4 separate regions of the Homo sapiens genome follow, and all the other regions are linked to region 2. Evidence: promoter capture Hi-C in human tissues and cell types (Jung and others, 2019). All regions are on one chromosome and are shown on one strand. Each heading gives the region's core, a stretch centred on a gene start or on the middle of the fragment in contact. The rest is flanking DNA. Distances are from core to core; before and after follow the strand shown. Region 1 overlaps FRAS1 (Fraser extracellular matrix complex subunit 1). Region 2 holds the start of FRAS1 (Fraser extracellular matrix complex subunit 1). Region 3 overlaps FRAS1 (Fraser extracellular matrix complex subunit 1). Region 4 overlaps FRAS1 (Fraser extracellular matrix complex subunit 1).

The links. The method cuts DNA at HindIII sites, captures the fragments that hold promoters and counts their contacts. A contact is called where the count stands out against the background at its distance.
Region 1: a contact is called between a fragment that was not itself captured here and the fragment with the promoter of FRAS1 in region 2, in 1 of the 25 tissues and cell types used here (mesendoderm cells).
Region 3: a contact is called between a fragment that was not itself captured here and the fragment with the promoter of FRAS1 in region 2, in 1 of the 25 tissues and cell types used here (dorsolateral prefrontal cortex).
Region 4: a contact is called between a fragment that was not itself captured here and the fragment with the promoter of FRAS1 in region 2, in 1 of the 25 tissues and cell types used here (mesendoderm cells).

The regions. Positions count from the first base shown.
Region 1 is chr4:78,386,138-78,390,739 of GRCh38, forward strand. FRAS1 (Fraser extracellular matrix complex subunit 1) reads left to right here. Exons shown (of 74, transcript NM_025074.7): 29 at 1,238-1,564. Among named protein-coding and RNA genes, the nearest start is that of SNORD161, 99 kb to the left of the region's middle. The HindIII fragment of the contact is 4,635 bases long and covers 1-4,489 here.
Region 2 is chr4:78,054,720-78,058,926 of GRCh38, forward strand. FRAS1 (Fraser extracellular matrix complex subunit 1) reads left to right here and starts at 2,604. Exons shown (of 74, transcript NM_025074.7): 1 at 2,604-3,366. The coding sequence starts at 3,291. RefSeq lists an enhancer at 1,190-2,161. The HindIII fragment of the contact is 7,312 bases long and covers 1-4,207 here.
Region 3 is chr4:78,516,191-78,520,563 of GRCh38, forward strand. It overlaps FRAS1 (Fraser extracellular matrix complex subunit 1), which reads left to right. Exons shown (of 74, transcript NM_025074.7): 67 at 3,141-3,291. Among named protein-coding and RNA genes, the nearest start is that of ANXA3, 33 kb to the right of the region's middle. The HindIII fragment of the contact is 4,460 bases long and covers 833-4,373 here.
Region 4 is chr4:78,367,639-78,371,971 of GRCh38, forward strand. It overlaps FRAS1 (Fraser extracellular matrix complex subunit 1), which reads left to right. Exons shown (of 74, transcript NM_025074.7): 23 at 2,200-2,346. Among named protein-coding and RNA genes, the nearest start is that of SNORD161, 81 kb to the left of the region's middle. The HindIII fragment of the contact is 6,572 bases long and covers 1-4,333 here.

The DNA of each region.
Region 1 (4,602 bases), core at 922-3,421, 330 kb after region 2:
TGAGTAAATAAGGAGAACATTTAATTTTATTTATTATATGAGAAACTTTTATCATTTTAAGTCTTTAAAATGGAATTTTAGAAAATCATTTTAACTTATTTTCATTCCTTTAAATTTCTGTGACATTGCAATATGGTCTTGAGCCTCTCTGAAATTTTCTCATGCAAGTTAATTTCGTCTTTTCCATTTGTGAATTTTGACATCATCTTTGACTTTTCCTCTTTCAGAGTAGGAGGGGTCACTCTTTCCCATGTATAGAATCACAGCTGTAGAATTCTCACTTGAGAATTCTAAAGACTAACTATCATCTAATTTCCCACTATGTAACTATTATAGTGATGTATTAGACATTCCTTTAATAGAGATTGTAATTTCCAGGAGGCCAGGAGGGTGCTTGGGTAGTTTTAAAAGAAAGCCATTTGGATTAAAGAAAGCAGTGTGTTGAGAAAAGTCCTAGATGGTTCCACTTCAAATGATATTTTTTTAAAAACTGAAATAATATTTTCTTTGGCTTCTGGCCTCAATTTTTTTGGGTGAGTTTTTTTTCTGTTGTGGTTCATTAGCTTTTATCTTTATGAAATAACATTTTATTTGCTTACTCAACTTGGTGGGAGGTAACCTGACAATCCTAAGAAAAAGATATTAAATTTTACTATAATATATTAGCCTTGTCACATGAATTAGCCAGGTGGTTGCCTTACTCACCTAGACCATAATCTTGGCACACTTTATAACCTGAGTTGGGGTGGGGCTCTGTCAAGATTTGGATGAGAAAACTGAAGAAAATTACTGGGAGGGACTAGAAACAGCATGAGCTCAGGATGCAAAAGTAGCTTCCTCAGAGTCAGTATACCACAACATGGCCTGGAGTGAAGTGTGTCCTCCCAAAGGCAAGTCCAAAAATTTCATACCTCTTATTAGTCTCTTTTGGGATAAATTTAAGTCAGGATAGCAGAGAAATTAGAGATTTAGAAGCTAGCAGCTCTCACCAGTTGTCTCTCAAGTCTTGAAGTAGCTTGATAAACCTCTAGAACCCAGAGGTGTGAAGTAACCTTAGTTGTTGTGTTCCTGTGAGTGACCACACCTCTGACGAATGTGTTCACCATAGAACAGTTTGGTGCTTTGCTAGAACACTTAGAGTTTCTCAAAAAGTATAGGAATAACAATCAGGTATCTAGTCCACTGGATTGTCCTTTCTTTCCCTCTTAACTGACTCTTCTTCCCTTCAACTCCACAGGCCCCCTATGTGCTGAGAAATGAAGTTCTCCACATTAGCAGAGGAGAGAGGGCAACCATCACCACCCAGATGCTTGACATCCGAGATGATGACAACCCACAGGATGTGGTCATTGAAATAATCGATCCTCCACTTCATGGCCAATTGCTTCAGACACTTCAGTCCCCGGCAACCCCTATCTATCAATTCCAGCTGGATGAACTCTCTAGAGGCCTTCTCCACTATGCTCATGATGGTTCAGACAGCACATCCGATGTTGCAGTCTTGCAGGCCAATGATGGACACTCCTTCCATAATATACTGTTCCAAGTGAAGACCGTGCCTCAGGTAGGTGTCATTCCTAGAGTTACAGTTTCTTTGCACCTAGATGTGAACTTCTACGGTTGATATTATTTTATGATACTCACAAAGTTAAGATATGGGTAGTCATTCACTTATTCAAATATAACCTATTATATAGAGGGCACTATATATCTAGTTAGGAGCACCCTTGATCTGAAAGACCTGTCCCCATGTTCTCTACAAATTGGGACACTTTTGAACCTTTTTTGTTGAGGTACTGCCATAAGAACGTGTTATTATCCACTAATCCTTTTGTCTCCTGCCTGAGCATAACCATAAGAATCAAGATATTTCTGTTTTTATCTGCCCCTCAAAAACAGCTCATGAGGCCAGGTGTGGTGGCTCACGCCTCTAATCCCAGCACTTTGGGAGGCTGAGGTGGGTGGATCACGAGGTCAGGAGATCAAGACCATCCTGGCTAACACGGTGAAACCCCGTCTCTACTGAAAATACAAAAAATTCGCTGGGCGTGGTGGCGGGTGCCTGTAGTCCTAGCTACTCGGGAGGCTGAGGCAGGAGAATGGCGTGAACCCAGGAGGCAGAGCTTGCAGTGAGCCGAGATCGCGCCACTGCACTCCAGCCTGGGTGACAGAGAGAGACTCCGTCTCAAAAACCAAAAAAAAAAAAAAACAAAAAAAACCCAGCTCATCAAATGTGAAGTTCATAGTCAGATAATCTGAATGACTCAAAAACGTTGAGTTCAGCCATTCTGTTAGCTCAACTAAAGTAGGATGAGCAAACTCTTTTGGTAATCCTAGGGATCTTTGCCCTAGGGAGTAGGAGCCAATAAAGAGCATTGGGCCAGGTGCAGTGGCTCATGCCTGTAATCTCAGCACTTTGGGAGGTTGAGGTAAGGGGATCACTTGAGCTCAGGAGTTTGAGACCAGCGTGAGCAACGTGGAGAAATCTTGTCTCTACTAAAGTTTTTTTTTTTTTTTTAAATTAGCTGGGTGCAATGGCATGCACCTATAGTCTCCACTACTCAGAAGGCTGAGGTGGGAGGATCACTTTAACCCAGAAGTTCCAGGTTGCAGTGAGCCATGATCACACTACTGTACTCCAGCGTGGATGACAGAGCAAGGCCCTATCTCTAAATAAATAAATAAATAGCATTTTTGCTCAGCCTGAGTCATTGACATGCCACCTTTTTATGTTTTCGCCATATCCACAAGCACCTGTACTATTATTTACTTAATATTTTTCTTTGTATCAACTTACTTTTTATTGTAGCCTCATCTTAATAAATAATACTTATGAAATCATGGGCTTAATGTAGAATTATACTTTTTTTCTAAAATATGAAAAATAATACATAACCATTCTACAACATTTTGTCCATATGCTACTGAAAATGTTCTTGGACACTGCAAATGAGATGGCTCTCACACTTTAGGAAATACTAGGCTGAGCCATTGCTAGACCAAAGGGACACGAAAAACATTTTCAAAACTAGTTGATGTTTCACTGGATGCCCTTTACTCAGTTGCATCAAGAATGGCTCTTTCTCATGGTAGTAGATTGGGAAACATAAATCTTAAACAACCTTTTATTTCAAATATCACTGCCTACTGAGGTGTCATTAATGACTAGCTAGAGAGACTGGTTTGTTGAGGACAGTTTAAAACCACTTGTCACTTTCTCATCAGTGATCACTCAAAATTTGCGATTGATCCGATTGAGCCTCATGAAGGTGAACAGCTGAATCTAATATGATCTGCTAGGTAATTTCTCAGTTTCCTGTCTCGTTATTTTCAGCTGCTGAAAGCAGTGAAGGTGGCATAGGAGAGATGGGAGTGAGTGAAAGCTGATGATGAGATGGAGTTGGCAGATAGCCACCTTGCAACTCATCCTAATTATCACTCTTGCGATGGCCCTGGGAGATGAGGTTTAGTTCTGGACAGATGAAGTCTAGACAGAGAGAAGTTTTTGTTTCTTCGTTCTTGGTTTCTTTCTAAAGGTTGTTAGAGGATTTCAGTGCCACCCTAGCAGCTGCCTTTCCTATTGTGGCTTCCATCTCCACGTTTGGAGCTCAGTTCAGTGTGTTGCACAACCATTTTGTGTGGAATGGCCCAAGATGGAAGGACATTTCTAGGGTTTTAGCTGCTTTGACTACCAGAACAAAACCAAGAAAAATGGAAATTTAATTCATAAATAAAGCACAAGACACAGAGTTTTGGGATCCTTGTGACTTGTGAGTCATGTAGGTATTTTCTATGTCTGTCTGTGATACCTGAAAAGTGAATTTAAGTTGTGCTCTGGGCCCCTTTTCATCCCTCTCTCCTGTATTGCTGTGATTACCTGCCCATGGATTGGAATAATGAAACCCATGACCAGAGCCTCAGCATTCATCAGGATGTACTAATAATACATCTGACTGCAATACTGGCAACATTATACAAATGTGTACTATTTTTCCTCTTAGGAATTCAAAATATTTTTTCCTTATATCTCTTTTACTGATCTTTACAATGTCTTGGGGAAGAAGGTTAGAGTAGAGGCTATGGGACCTTAATTTTTCTAATGGAGATTCTATTATGGGTGGAAGTTTTTTGTTTTGTTTTTGATGTTAGGCACTAAAGCTTGATGGGAATTATTCCATTTGATCTTCATGATCACTCTGTGATGTTTGTACAGTTATTATCCATAATTTTCCAAAAGAGGAAACTGAAGCACAAAGAGGTTCAAAAACATTCATTTTCATAAAGATACTTAGTGCTGGAGCTATGATTTCATCTCAAGTGTGTCTGCCTCCTACATTTAACCATGAGACTCTTTTCATTCCAGCTAGTGTTTTTCAGTGTGTTGGTCATATATATTCTTATCCCCTTGATGGATAGAATAAAGACAGTAATTTAGTCATTTTCTCAATGTTCTATCCAAGCTGGGCCCCAAGCCTTCTGTAATCTTTCCTCTGAACTCACTGTATCTTGTTACAAGTGAGAGTATTTATAATCATTAAGTCTTCCAGGCCCAAGAAGAAAAAAATGCCTCAACTCTTATGGCTTCTTGTAGATGCATTGTCA
Region 2 (4,207 bases), core at 1,354-3,853:
TTCCAACATTTCAGTTGAAGTGAACATAGGTGTTAGATATGCCTAATATTACAGAAATATTGGTTGACCCTTTGCTCTTCCAAGTGATCTTAGGGCAAGGACTCAGGCTGCCTTCTCCCTTGACTACTTAGGGCAGAGGGAGGACTATGTGAGTGGGCCAGCATGTGCCCCTGTGGTGGACTGGTGGTCAAGGGGGGATGTTATATATAAATCCAATAAATACAGCATATGATTAATTCAGGGTAACTTGGTAGTGCTATTCTCCCTTTATTTATTGCTTTTCCTTTTTGAAAAGTAGCATATTTGCAATTAGCAAGTATAACAGATATCTTATTGAGACCTGTGCCATAATTGTATGATTTTTGGAGTGCAGTGATTATTTATAGGCGTAATCAGGGTGGACCATGGCCTCCAACTTCCAAGCTCAAGTGATCCTCCCGCCTCAGCCTCTGGAGTAGCTGAGACTACAGGTGCACCCCACTGCACCCAGCTTGATTTTTAAAATAAAATCAAATTGTTGATTTTTGAGAGAACAAACGGTTTAAGTTACTCCCATTCAGTAGCAGCTGCAAAATTAGGAGGGGGTTTAAGGGTGACCGTCTGGTTGTCAGAGTGTGTTGGAAGCTGAGTTTGAATTTGCACATCACTTTACATGGATTGAGAAGATGTCCTCCACCCCCCCGCCCCGCCCGACCTTTATTTTTGAGACAGAGTCTCGCTGTGTCACCCAGGCTGGAGTGCAGTGGTGAGATCTCTGCTCACTGCAACCTCTGCCTCCCGGGTTCAAGTGATTCTCGTGCCTCAGCCTTCAGAGTACCTGGGATTAAAGGCATGTGCCACCACACGTGGCTAATTTTTGTATTTTTAGTGGAAATGGGGTTTCACCATGTTGGCCAGGCTGGTCTCGAACTCCTGACGTCGTGATCTGCCTGCCTTGGCCTCCCAAAGTGCTGGGATTACAGGCGTGAGCCACCGCACAGGCCCTACTTTCTAAATAAAAAGGGAGGGGTCTTTTTTTGGGAGGAGGTTAAGGCCCGCAGCTCCCCTTGATATGGCCGCTGCTCTCAGGCACTTAATCCATTATTTCAACAAATGTTTAAAGAGCACCTACTATGTGCTTCAATTATACAAAGATGATACAACCTCTGTCCCTAGAATGACCACAGCCCAACAGAGAGACTGAGGGCGAAATGTGCAAACCCTGGGTCCTCCAAATACTTAAGATTCAGAGCCAGGTTGTCAGAGGTTCTCCTTTGTTCTGGCTGAATAGTAACACTGACAGGGACCTGCCAGTTTCAAGTTATTCCAGTTATTCGGAAAAGTGAATTGTTCCAAGTGGCGTCAGTGCACGTTAGAACGTGGGCCCGCGTCATGGTGTTCGTGAAGACTGGAAACAAGTGGGACCCCCGCCAGCACAGCTCATGCAACTGCTTCCCCTCCAACAGTTTCGCCCATCCCGACTCAATTGAGGGACCCGAGACGTTTCTTCTCTGGGCCAATCAGAACCCAGTCAGCATCTCTCTGATGCAACTGTTCCCTTATAAAACGATTAAACGTGGACCAGCTATTTTTATTCGGTCCTATAAAAATAGCTGCCGTCAGTCAGTCCTGGCGGGGAATCAAGGCCTCTGCTCTTCAAGTGCGCGCCCCAGTCGGCCGTGTCCTGATGTTACTTTCCCAGCCATTGGCATCTGGGGGCGCAGCTGGACCCACAGCTCCCAGACCGCGTTGTGTTCCACTGACAGAGTCTCCTAGGGAAAGGGAAAGGTGCATTTGCTCTCAGGCTCCGCCTAGGACACACACACCAAGATCTTCCCGGGCTGCTGGTAAAAGCCAGGATGCAACAGCCTGAGGGTCCCAGAGCGAGGAAGAAGGATCAATCAGGTCCCCCGGACGCACTTAGTTCAGCAGGAGTGGCGGGCTGTGGGGGTGGGAGGTAGCCCCAGGGCCTTTGATGTGGGCACACGCTCCCCCAGCCCGCCGAATCGGTTCCTCCCCTAACAAGGGATGTGGACACGGTTCATCTGCCTTCCGGTGTGCCTGAGCAAGAACTGTGCAACCTATCTCCACCCCCTCCGTCCCCGGTATGAGCACTTTTGATTCCTCCCCAGACAAAGCCAATCTGAACTCCAGCAGAATGAATAAAGGGATCAGGTTGCTCTCCCGGCCTCCCCTCACCTCCCTCCTCGCTTCTCCCTTTCCCCACGTGACTCTCTGGAATTTCGCCAAAGCTCCGAGTCTCTGGGTCCATTTTCACACCGAGCAAAGCAGAGAGGAAGGAGGCAAGGGAGACTAGAGGAAGGCTGAACGTGTGTCCTTTAAACACGGGGTCCAGACCCGGCGTATTTTGGGCGTTTCCAGGCTCTCTCGCCAGAGTGGCCTTGAGTTTGGGGGTCTTTTCCAGCCTCGCTAGCTTTTTCCTCCGTGCAATTAAAATTATGGCTCTTCTTCCACTCCCGTAATCATTGCACCTCTACCCTGCAGACCTCCTCCGGGGTGTTCAGCGCGGAGGTGGGTGTTGGTGTGCAGCAAGCCGCGTCCCCGCAGCCCTCCTCACCCAGGCGAGGGGCGGGGACGAGAAAGTAGCAGCAGCGCCCCCCAGTCTTTCCTCTGAAGCTTCCGAACAGTCTGCTTCAGGGAGCGCAGCCTGAGGCGGTGTGGTGCGGTGCGGCTGCAGGGCGGGCGAGTCCCCGGAGCTGCCCTCAGCGCTGCACAGTTTCCAGCGAGCGGACCCCGGCAGATGAGGTCTGCCGAGCCGGGTGGCTCGACCAAGGAGTGGGTGTGGGTGGGTCTTTCGGGGCTCCCGGCGACCCGCGGTGCCGACGCAACGCCGACGTATGGTGCCAAGCGAACTTTAAAAAGCTGCTTCGGACAAACCAGAGCCAGGATTTCCACTGTCGGGGACCCGGGATCGGAAGGGTCTAGCCCGAGGGAAATGCTGGAAGATCCCATCGGCCAGTGACCAGCAACTTTCCGGCGAGATTTTGACGCGGAGAACTGTGCTCTGCCTCCTCTTATTCTCCCAAAGCTCACGTTGGCGTCCTGCCTTGCGGGGGAACTCGGCGCGCTCTCTGCCTGAGCAGCGAGTGAATTGAACCCCAGCCCGCTCCGGCGCCTCCGGGCTGATGAGTGTCGCTCTCCGCCCGTCCATCTCTTTTTCCCGGAGGTAAAGGCCCGCGGTCCCCCACCTTCAGTGCGCCCGGGTTCCAAGCGCCGGAGCCAGCGTTTTGGCGGAGCCGCTTCTTGGATGCTGAAGGCTGGGCTCCTCCATCGTGGGTGCCGAGGCGGCGATGGGTGTCCTCAAAGTGTGGCTCGGGCTGGCCCTAGCGTTGGCGGAATTTGCAGTATTGCCTCATCATTCCGAAGGTGAGAGAGCGGTGCCGCGTGTGTGTGTGTGTGTGCGTGTGCGTGTGTGTGTGTATGTGTGAGTGATCGTGCAGTTTAAAAATCTCAGCAGGTTTTATGGTATTTCGGTGAGGTGGAAGTTTTTCTGGGAAGGGTGAGGTGGAAGTGAAACTGGAATAGGCTTTTTCTGATAAGATTCCTACTCCTGATTGTTTTGTATTCGGATTACACCCCCGAAACGGCCTCCCTCTCTGCCCTAAGTGCTTTTGGGTGGGTGGGTGGCCGATGGAGGTGACATCTCTGAAACTGATCCTTTTTCTTTCCACCACCTACCTTTCCCCGAAGGGAAAGCAACTGCATGGAGCACAGGTGAGGAGCGAACAATTGCTCTTACCTGTTTAAAAATACTTCTGTTCCTAAGAAACATACAGTCTTTCATCTTAAAGCCCCATCGCTCTCCCGCCCTCCTTACCTCAGTTAGTCTCCCCCTAAAGTCCAGTTAGGATTTTATAACTAACTGGTTGGAGCGTGTTCTGGTCGTGGGCAGTTCAGTTGCACTGAAAGAAATCTCTCCAGTACGGAGAAGCACGAACCAGCCTGCTTCCCAGAACAAAAGTGGTTAATAAGAGTTTAGGTTCATTCTTTTACTTCACCCTCCGCCTCCTGGTTTTCCTCCGAGGCTCCAAGCTACCTGTAAAACCCCGGAGCCGCAGGAGAGAAAAGGAAGCCGTGAGACTAGTTGTCGCCATGATATCAAATGCAATCCGGGCTCAGCCAAATAAATGAGTCAATAAGTAAATCAAGAGTTTGGGGTCATGGGATGCCGGGCCTGGGGACGCGAGGCGCTGTGAGCTCCCTCCTG
Region 3 (4,373 bases), core at 1,813-4,312, 460 kb after region 2:
CCAAAGTCCTCTAAATCAAGTTAATGTGGAAAAAACTTACTGTCTGGCATACTCACTTATGTAAAAATCCAATATTTACTTCTCTAGGCATATATGTTTTTGTATTTATAATGCATATATTTTGGAAAGCCAAAAATATTTACATTTGATGCTAGGGTTATTACTACATTGATATATTCTCTTCCCCACCTGGGAAAATGCGTCAGATGATGCAGCCTGTCTTTCAGAAGATAAGAAGAGCTCTGTTGTCCTATGCATTGTGGAAAGATAATTGCTTAAAACATTTTTATTTCACACCTGTTCCAAACTGCCAGCCCCCACAAAAATAGACACTTTCTAAAATATATATTACCATTAAACATTAGTGTGTTAGTCTATTCTCACACTACCATAAAGACAAACCAGAGACTGGTAATCTATAAAGAAAAGAGGTTTAATTGACTCACAGTTCCACATGGCTGGAGAGGCCTCAGGAAACTTATAATCATAGTGAAAGGGGAAGCAGACATGTCTTACATGGTGGCAGGTGAGAGAGAGCAAGCAAGAACAAGGAAAACTGCCTTATAAAACCATCAGATCTCATGAGAACTCACTATCACAAGAACAGCATGAGGGAAACCACCCCCATGATCCAATCACCTCCCATCTGGTTCCTCCCTTGACATGTAGGGATTATGGGGATTACAATTCAAGATGAGATTTGGGTGGGGACACAGAGCCAAACCATATCAATTAGTGACAACTGAAAAATTTATAGCAAGAAGCCAGAGTCAGAGAAGGGCGGTTATATCAAAGGGCCAGTGAGACTAGGCTAATCTGTCCTCATGGGAAAATTAATTCTAAAACAGGTTCTATCCAATTTTGAGCAGTTATCTCAATGAGCTAAAAACTAGTTAGATGTTTGTTCTTCATTTCAAATCAGGTTTATCCTCACTGAAGGAGAGAAATTATAGAGGGATTTACAGTAATTATTTAGAGAAAGTGTCTTTGATTAAAATTTGTCATTTTCTTTGTGGTGCCTCTCAGCCTGGTTTCCTCTCATTTTGTACACACTACTGCCATCTACTGAAGAGAATTTTAAGGCGTTCATCGGTTTTCCATTTCTCCAGTTGTATAAACTTTGACTTTGGAAAATGCAAAACTAAGTGATTTTGTTTCTTTCCTGGCCCTTCAAAAATTAGTATTCTCTGTTCTTTATGATTTTGCTGTAATTACTGTTTGAATATTTTTATTCAGAATATGCTTAAAAACTCAAAGACAAGGATTTGTTATATATAATCCCACTTTTAAACCAACACAGAAAAAACATGCACAGAAGTATTTTGTTGTTGTCTGTTTCTTTGAAAATAATTGAAATTACTGACGTATGATAGGAAGAATATAGAACTTAGAACTAAGGCCTAGTTGGTACCTTTTGCTGTCAATCAACAGGCTTGGACAAGACATAACCTCTCTGAACCTCTTCTGAAATTGTACTAATAATCTCAACATGAGAAGGTGCCTTGCACAGTGTGCCTGGTGTAGAATAGGCATGCAGTAAATATTTGTTGGGTTTTTTTTTCTTTTTAAAGATTAGTGAGTAATATCATGAGGGCTAAAGGAGGATAAACAAAAACAAATGAGGAAAAATTAATTTTGCCAATCAGCTAGAGATTTTATTGAAGTTCTGATAGTGTGATTGGAGCAGGTGTATTTAGCAAAACCTGTGTATAAGGGACAGAACATGGTACAAGGTCCAAATACAATCTGGAAATTTTCTTTAAAAAGAACAAAAAGAGGGGCTGGGAACAGTGGCTCATACCTGTAATCTCAGTACTTTGGGAGGCTGAGGCTGGAGGATCACTGGAGGCCAGGAAGTTGAAGCTGCAGTGAGCTATGATGGAGTCACTGCATTCTAGTCTGGGCTACAGAGAGAGACCCCATCTCTTGAAAAACAAACAAACAAACAAACAAACAAACAAAGTAAGGCATGTCAAAATGGAATTTTTCAATGAGTATGGAGTTAGTTGAGTCTTTTGAGAAAGTTGGCATCAAATTTTAAATCCCTGACAACTTTGAATATTAAAAAAAAACTTTAGAAAAATATTAAAACATTTGGTTTTTTCCTTAATTACCCATAGAAACACTTTATACTGTATTTTCAAACAAAAGAAAAATATAAGTCCCATAGTATATTATAGTAATTAGCCAATGATAAAATAAAATTGTTTTAAGCTAAGTTTTTTTGTTGTGTATATATATATATATATATATATATATATATTTATTTATTTATTTATTTGTGGAAAAAAGTATAAAAATATTTTAAAAATGTGTGAACTAACTCCCCATTCACACACACATATACAGCTAGCTTCACCACAAAAGCTTCTGCTACCATTCTGTTATCTTTCCATCCAGTTTTGTTCATTACATAGTAAAATGAAAATGATTGGGCCAAATTAAAAGCAGGAACACAAACTTCCTTAGAAGAAATGTTCTCTTGGAAATGTGATATGCTGCCTTTTCAAAACTCTTTCCAAAGCATAGCATGGGACAGGAAATTACTGAAGTACGTGCAGCTCTGAGCTGTCCATTGGTGAGCTTCCTATATATGATTTCAATGCTCCGGCCCTTTGTTCCTGGAGCAGGAGATGAGAGCACTCACTAAAACATCCTGAGTTAGGCACAGGCTCCTCCCAGGCGTCTGGATGTGGGCATCTTCCTGATGATGGTTGACTTGGGCTCTCCCACAGGTCACTGGCAAATGATCAATACAGGGAGTTTGTACTGAGTGGTAGATCCCACATCCACCGGGTTGATCCTTGAGAATAATTGTGATATTCTCAAATTTCAGCCAAATCTTCTAGCAACTGAACAGAGCTCATTCTCCCACTTCAAAAGTATTTTTGTTCAAGTGCCACCTCCTTAGAGAAGCCTCTGCACGTGACCCTGTCGAAAGAAGCATCCCGGCTGCTTTCTATTCCATTAGTTCCTTTATTTTTTTAAATAAGTAAGTGCAATCATGGGCACTTGCTTAATAATTATTGAATAAGTGTGTGACTACATGGGTGAATGAAAATGGAACCAAGATGTGGTGATAGTATGTCTTTTCATCCCAGGGGAGAAATAACTCTGTGTGCATACTGCTTCCTCGGCAGGTGAGGGACTCTGCCCAGTCCTTCTTGACAGTGCACGTGCCTCTATATGTGTCCTACATCTATGTGACAGCCCCCAGGGGCTGGGCCTCCTTGGAGCACCACACCGAGATGGAGTTTTCTTTCTTCTATGACACTGTTCTCTGGAGAACAGGTATGCCCACTGACGCCTTAACTATCCCTTTAGTTAGGGCTTCACTCAAGCAAGATTAAAAGAAGAGTAGTGACTTTTAACAGTAGCTGCATTTCTCATCCTGTTATCCCGAAGACAAAGTGGGGCCACCTCAAAGTGCAGATCTGTGGTTCCTGAAAAGAATGATGTCCTTCTGTCCTGATGCTGGAAGGTCTCAGCCCAGATAGCTAAGGTCCCAGCGTAGAGGATGGCAAGTGACAAATGAGTCCTCTACTGCCCGTTAGGGATTCAGATGGGTGTGTGTTCTTTTGGAATATAACCCAAATGATTTTCATTTTCTCCTAGTGAAAAATTGTGTGGTTCTTGTTTTTACAGAGCAAAAGGATCTTCAAATCAGATGCAAGGAAATGGAAAAATGTGTCAAGAGCACTTGAAATATTTATGTCAAGTAGCCCACTTTATTCATTTGGCAAAGAGTCTGCTCTTTAATTGCATCCTCCAAAGAAGGGATTTTAACCTTCCGAAGTCAAGGGCTGTGATACTGAATGTTTAAAATGACCTTTCCCTCAGGCTCATCCCCATTACTGTCCTCTTTGGGAGGAGCCTCCAAGAACTAAGTGGGAGGCAGCCCTTCAGCTGGGAGCCCACACCTCACCCCCACTCAGTTTCCACACCTCACCCCCACTCAGTTTCCACACCTACCTCCTCCTACTGCTTCCACATAGATGCTCCTTAAAACTCCCCAATTTTCTCCTCCGTTCTCTCCAATCGTTCTTGGTTATTTTTGTTTTTCTTGTTTTTTTTTTTTTCCTCATTTTTAGTGTCCTGTACTTCACACACTACCCCTAACCTATTTCCCCAAACCCATTTCCCCTAAATTCTGCTGCTCCCATCCTCCCTGTTTTCCTCTTCAGGGGTGAGGTGCTTTATCTGGGGCAAACATACTAAAAAAAATACAAGAGTTTTCTTTTGAGAAAGCTTCATCTCTACTAATTGAAATTACAGTCATCATTCATATCTATTAGTGTTTGGTTCCAGGACCTCCCACAGACACCAAGATCTGAGGATGCTCAAGTCCCTCATATAAAATGGTGTAGTATTTA
Region 4 (4,333 bases), core at 1,717-4,216, 310 kb after region 2:
ATTTTTTTTTTTCTATAGGAACTGCTATCTAAGCAGGTCTTCTTCATCCTGTATTTGTACAGTTGGTTTTAGAACATAAATGCGGGACTTTTCTTAGAGTTCTGCTTATTTCACTTGGTTACTGTAGGTTCATTATTTCAACTGGTTAAGGTAACTGAACTGTTGTTCTTCCAGCTGGTGAAACTTAACTATGTATGTTTTCTATATAGGTGCATGTGGCATATTTAAATATTATTGACATGGTTTCTTTGTTTCTATTAAAGTCATGGATAAAAATATTGATCAAGTAAGAAATTAAGGCCTAATTAATGTGATACTCTGCTGTGGACCTATTTTTATCAATTATAAAGATTTGCTGATCATATTTTGAGTATGCTTTTCAACCACCTTCAAATCCACTTACAACTAGTAGGTCTCACTTCATTTTTGTATTCACAAGTTTATTTTTGGAATCTCTATCAAACACTTTGCCAAAATTAAGATACACCATGCATAAAAATTCTAGCAAAAAAAAAGGGATAAAAATTTGGTCTCATCTAAGCTTACAACAGTTAAAATATTCTTTTCTAATTATTGAAAATAATTAGAACTGAAAATCCAGTCTAGAATTTTCCCAGGACCTTAAATTATCAATATGCATATTCTAATGAATGTTTTATAACAATGTCTTTCTTTGTAGGTGAAACAATAGCATTCTTTTTTTTTTTCAGGGAGGTAATTTTCCTGCACTGTGCCATATACTTTGATATCATATAGATCTAAAACTCACTGGGTTTCTCTCTGTACTTTTCCTCTGACACGTACTTAGAGAAGATTTCAGAATGAGACAGAAATGCTGGTGCTTGTATATACCTTATGCAATATCTGGCTTTATTTCTTTTATGTAGCAAGTGTTCATTGAACACCTACAATATGACAGATAACCAGCTAGGTGCTGACTAACATTACAAGGAACAAAACAGACCTGTTATTTGCTTTCATGAAGTTTGCAGCCTAAAAGATACAAATGTTAATCAAATAATCACTCAAATGGAAATTGCTATACATGGCATGAAAAACATGTAGAGCATGCTATAATGCAAGGCCTGTTTTAGAATAGAAAGTTAACAAAGGTCCCAGAAGAAGAGACTGAAGAATGAGTTAAGAGTTAAAGACTCGGAGATTATATTAAGAGGATTCAAATATGCATGTTATAATAGGATTTCCAGGTGGAGAGAATGGAGGGAATGGTAGGGGAGCAATATTTGCAGAAATGATGGCTGGAAATTTTCCAGGATTGAAAAATGACATTGAGTTTGAAGGCGAAAGTGTACTCTGAAACCTGAGCTGTATGAATTTTAAAACCCACTCTGGTGGATGCATGGAAAATGGATTGCAAGGGGGTCAGAGCGGAGATGGGGAAACCAATTAGGAGGCTGTGATAGTAGTTCAGCAGGGGATGATGATGGCTTAGAAATATTGGCATTTGTGGATATGGAAAAAAGCAAAAAGTTCTGAGAGTTATATCGGAGAGTTTGAATAAATAGGATCCAGTGAGTAACTGGATTAGGAGTCAGGGAAAGAGAGGTGTCAAGATAGACTTGGAGGTTTCTGGCATGAACAACTGTGTAGATGGAGAAATGCCAGTTGTTAAATAAGGGAAGATGGAAGCATGACCAGATTGGGGGATCATCCCTGAATGTCAGAGTTATGTGGCTGGGTTCTAAGAGTTGTAACTAGGCAAATCAATAAACCAGTTCACCTTCAAGTCCTTTGTATCTTAAAGTATGGGATTTCCCAAGCTCCCCAATAAAGTTGGTGCCTAATTTTAATGTTGCCATCACACAAAAACCTGAATCTACATTATGAACTTAAGGGGGCTTGATTCCTGAAGAAGTAAGGTTTAAGTTCTGAACTATAATTCCAGGGATCTTAGAGTAAGCATAAATTCTGTTGCTGAATCACAGAGCAATTTGGATATGGGATTTCCATTATTGGGTTTGCACTTTATATTCTTTGTAAAATAAGATTACCCTTTTCTATTTCGGAAACTAATATTTTCTGTTTTTGTTGATCACAGGGGAGGGCTATGAGCCATAATGAAATGTAGAGCAGGTTGGAACAAGGCTTTGTTCCTATGCAACATCTGTCTAGGTTTGATCAGTGCTTCAGTATTTGCAATTGTAATCATCTGGTCATTTTCTTTTCCTGTCTGCTCAGCATGCAACACACACTGTGGAAGCTGTGATTCACAGGCCAGCTGTACCTCCTGCCGAGATCCAAACAAGGTTCTGCTCTTTGGGGAATGTCAATACGAGAGCTGCGCCCCACAGTACTATCTTGACTTCTCCACCAACACGTGCAAAGGTAAAGCTCTTCCTGAATTGTGTAAAGATTCTTTTACACAGTGATACCACTTTACTACTGATGTCTAGTTTTCCATATTGGGAAAACACCAGTCATCATATATTTTGACTGTCTCTGATGATAGCAACAATTGTGTGTGTATGTATATATTCATTAATTCACTCCTTTATTTACTTATTAAGCATATATTTTTGAGCACCTATTTGTGTCAGATGTTGTGCCACGTCTTGATAACAAGACCAGAGGTGGCAAATTGTAAATCCTCAGGTTATATATGGCCCATAGACATGTTTTCTTTGTCTACTTAATGTTTCAATGCTTTAAAATCTTTAATTATTTGCCTTTTAAAAATCAGAAGATTTCACATACAAAAATTGAGATTTTCAAGTGTTGTTGGTTTTTTCTTAACCAGAAGCTCTGGTAATGTTGGATATGTATCCTGACAGTGAAGCTCTAGTAATGTTGGATATGTATCCTGACAGTGCAACCGTAGGTTGAAACGGTGTAGCTGTCGTCCCTGCTGGATGGAACAGGATCTCTTCAGTTCAGCAGTCCCCACCATTCCCTTTCTATCACACAAGGCCTATTCTGAAGATACATTACTTTCCTGGGCTGTAGGTGTTTGCATTTACAACTTGAGATTGCTACCTCCAAGCTTGATAAGGTCAGGAGTCGTGTCTGATGTGTTCATCTCTGCTTAACATACTTAAATGAGTGAAGACGTAGTCCCTGTCTTCAAGGAAATTTATAAGGAGATAATGTCAAATGCCAAGTGCCTTTTTCTTTGCTCTCCAGTAGTTGGAATTCTCGGGGCTTACACACTTTGAATGGTAGTGCTCAGCAACAGGAAAGCAAAGGTAAAGAACAGGTTTTACTTGCTCCTGTCCATTTCCTCATTCCTGACTCCTTCCACATTTCTCTCTATCCCTCTGATTCTGGCAGAGAAGCTAGAGCTTGGATATGGTGGTCAAACATCTGTCAAGTAAACTTAGGATGCTTTAAGGCTCTGCAAAATTGCACACTTTCCATTCCAAGAAATTCTACTTCGTTGTCAACTTAGGTGGTCTGCTGTGCTCGAGACCACAGAATTTTTTTTCTGTTTTTTTGTTTTTTTTTTTTTTTGCCTTCTAACCAGTAGCTGTCAGTTTGTGGTGAAAAACAAGATTATCACAAATCCACTCCATTATAAATGATTTCATAACTGTGCTGGCAGTTTTCAAGGCTCTGTTTTAGTCATTTTCCCTCAGGACTGATTCAGCTAAATAAAGGAATAGGATTAACTTTGTAAATCTTGGAAGCACGTGTACTGTCTTGCACATTTACCTGATTTCTTTGGGACTTAGAAATATTCTACCAAGGAAGAGAAAAGGTAACTAATGAGAGGTTTCTCCAGTTTCTTAGCAGGAATGGAAGGTGAGATCGAGGGTGGCCCTGAATGGAGATAGGTTCTCTAAGAGAAACAGTTCAGCAGCAAACATTTATTGAGTTGTTACTATATGCCAGGCACTGTGCTAAATTATTTAAATTCATTATTTCATTTTATTCTTCACATTTTATTCTTCTTAACATTATGAAATGGGTACTATTCTCACCCATGTTTTACAGGTGAGAAACCAGGATAATATAGATAAAAACATGATTGTAGGATAATATAGAGAAAAAGTAGCAAAGCCATGACTTGAATACAGACTTACCTTTCTTCAAAACCCATGCACTTAACTGTGCTATCCCATCCCATCTTCCATGCAGGTAGCACTTCCCTTACCAGCTACAACACTGGCTTTCAAACATGAGTTTTCTGACTGCGTCAGAATTGCCTGGGCCATTAAAAACAACAGCAACAGCAACAACTATAATATTCACAATAACAAGTACAGCAGCAACATGTTTTCCTGTGCCCCAACCCAACCCCTGAGACTCTGATTTGATAAATCTGATGCTGAGCCTAATCCATATTTTTTAACAACCCCCCTGGATTATTTGCATG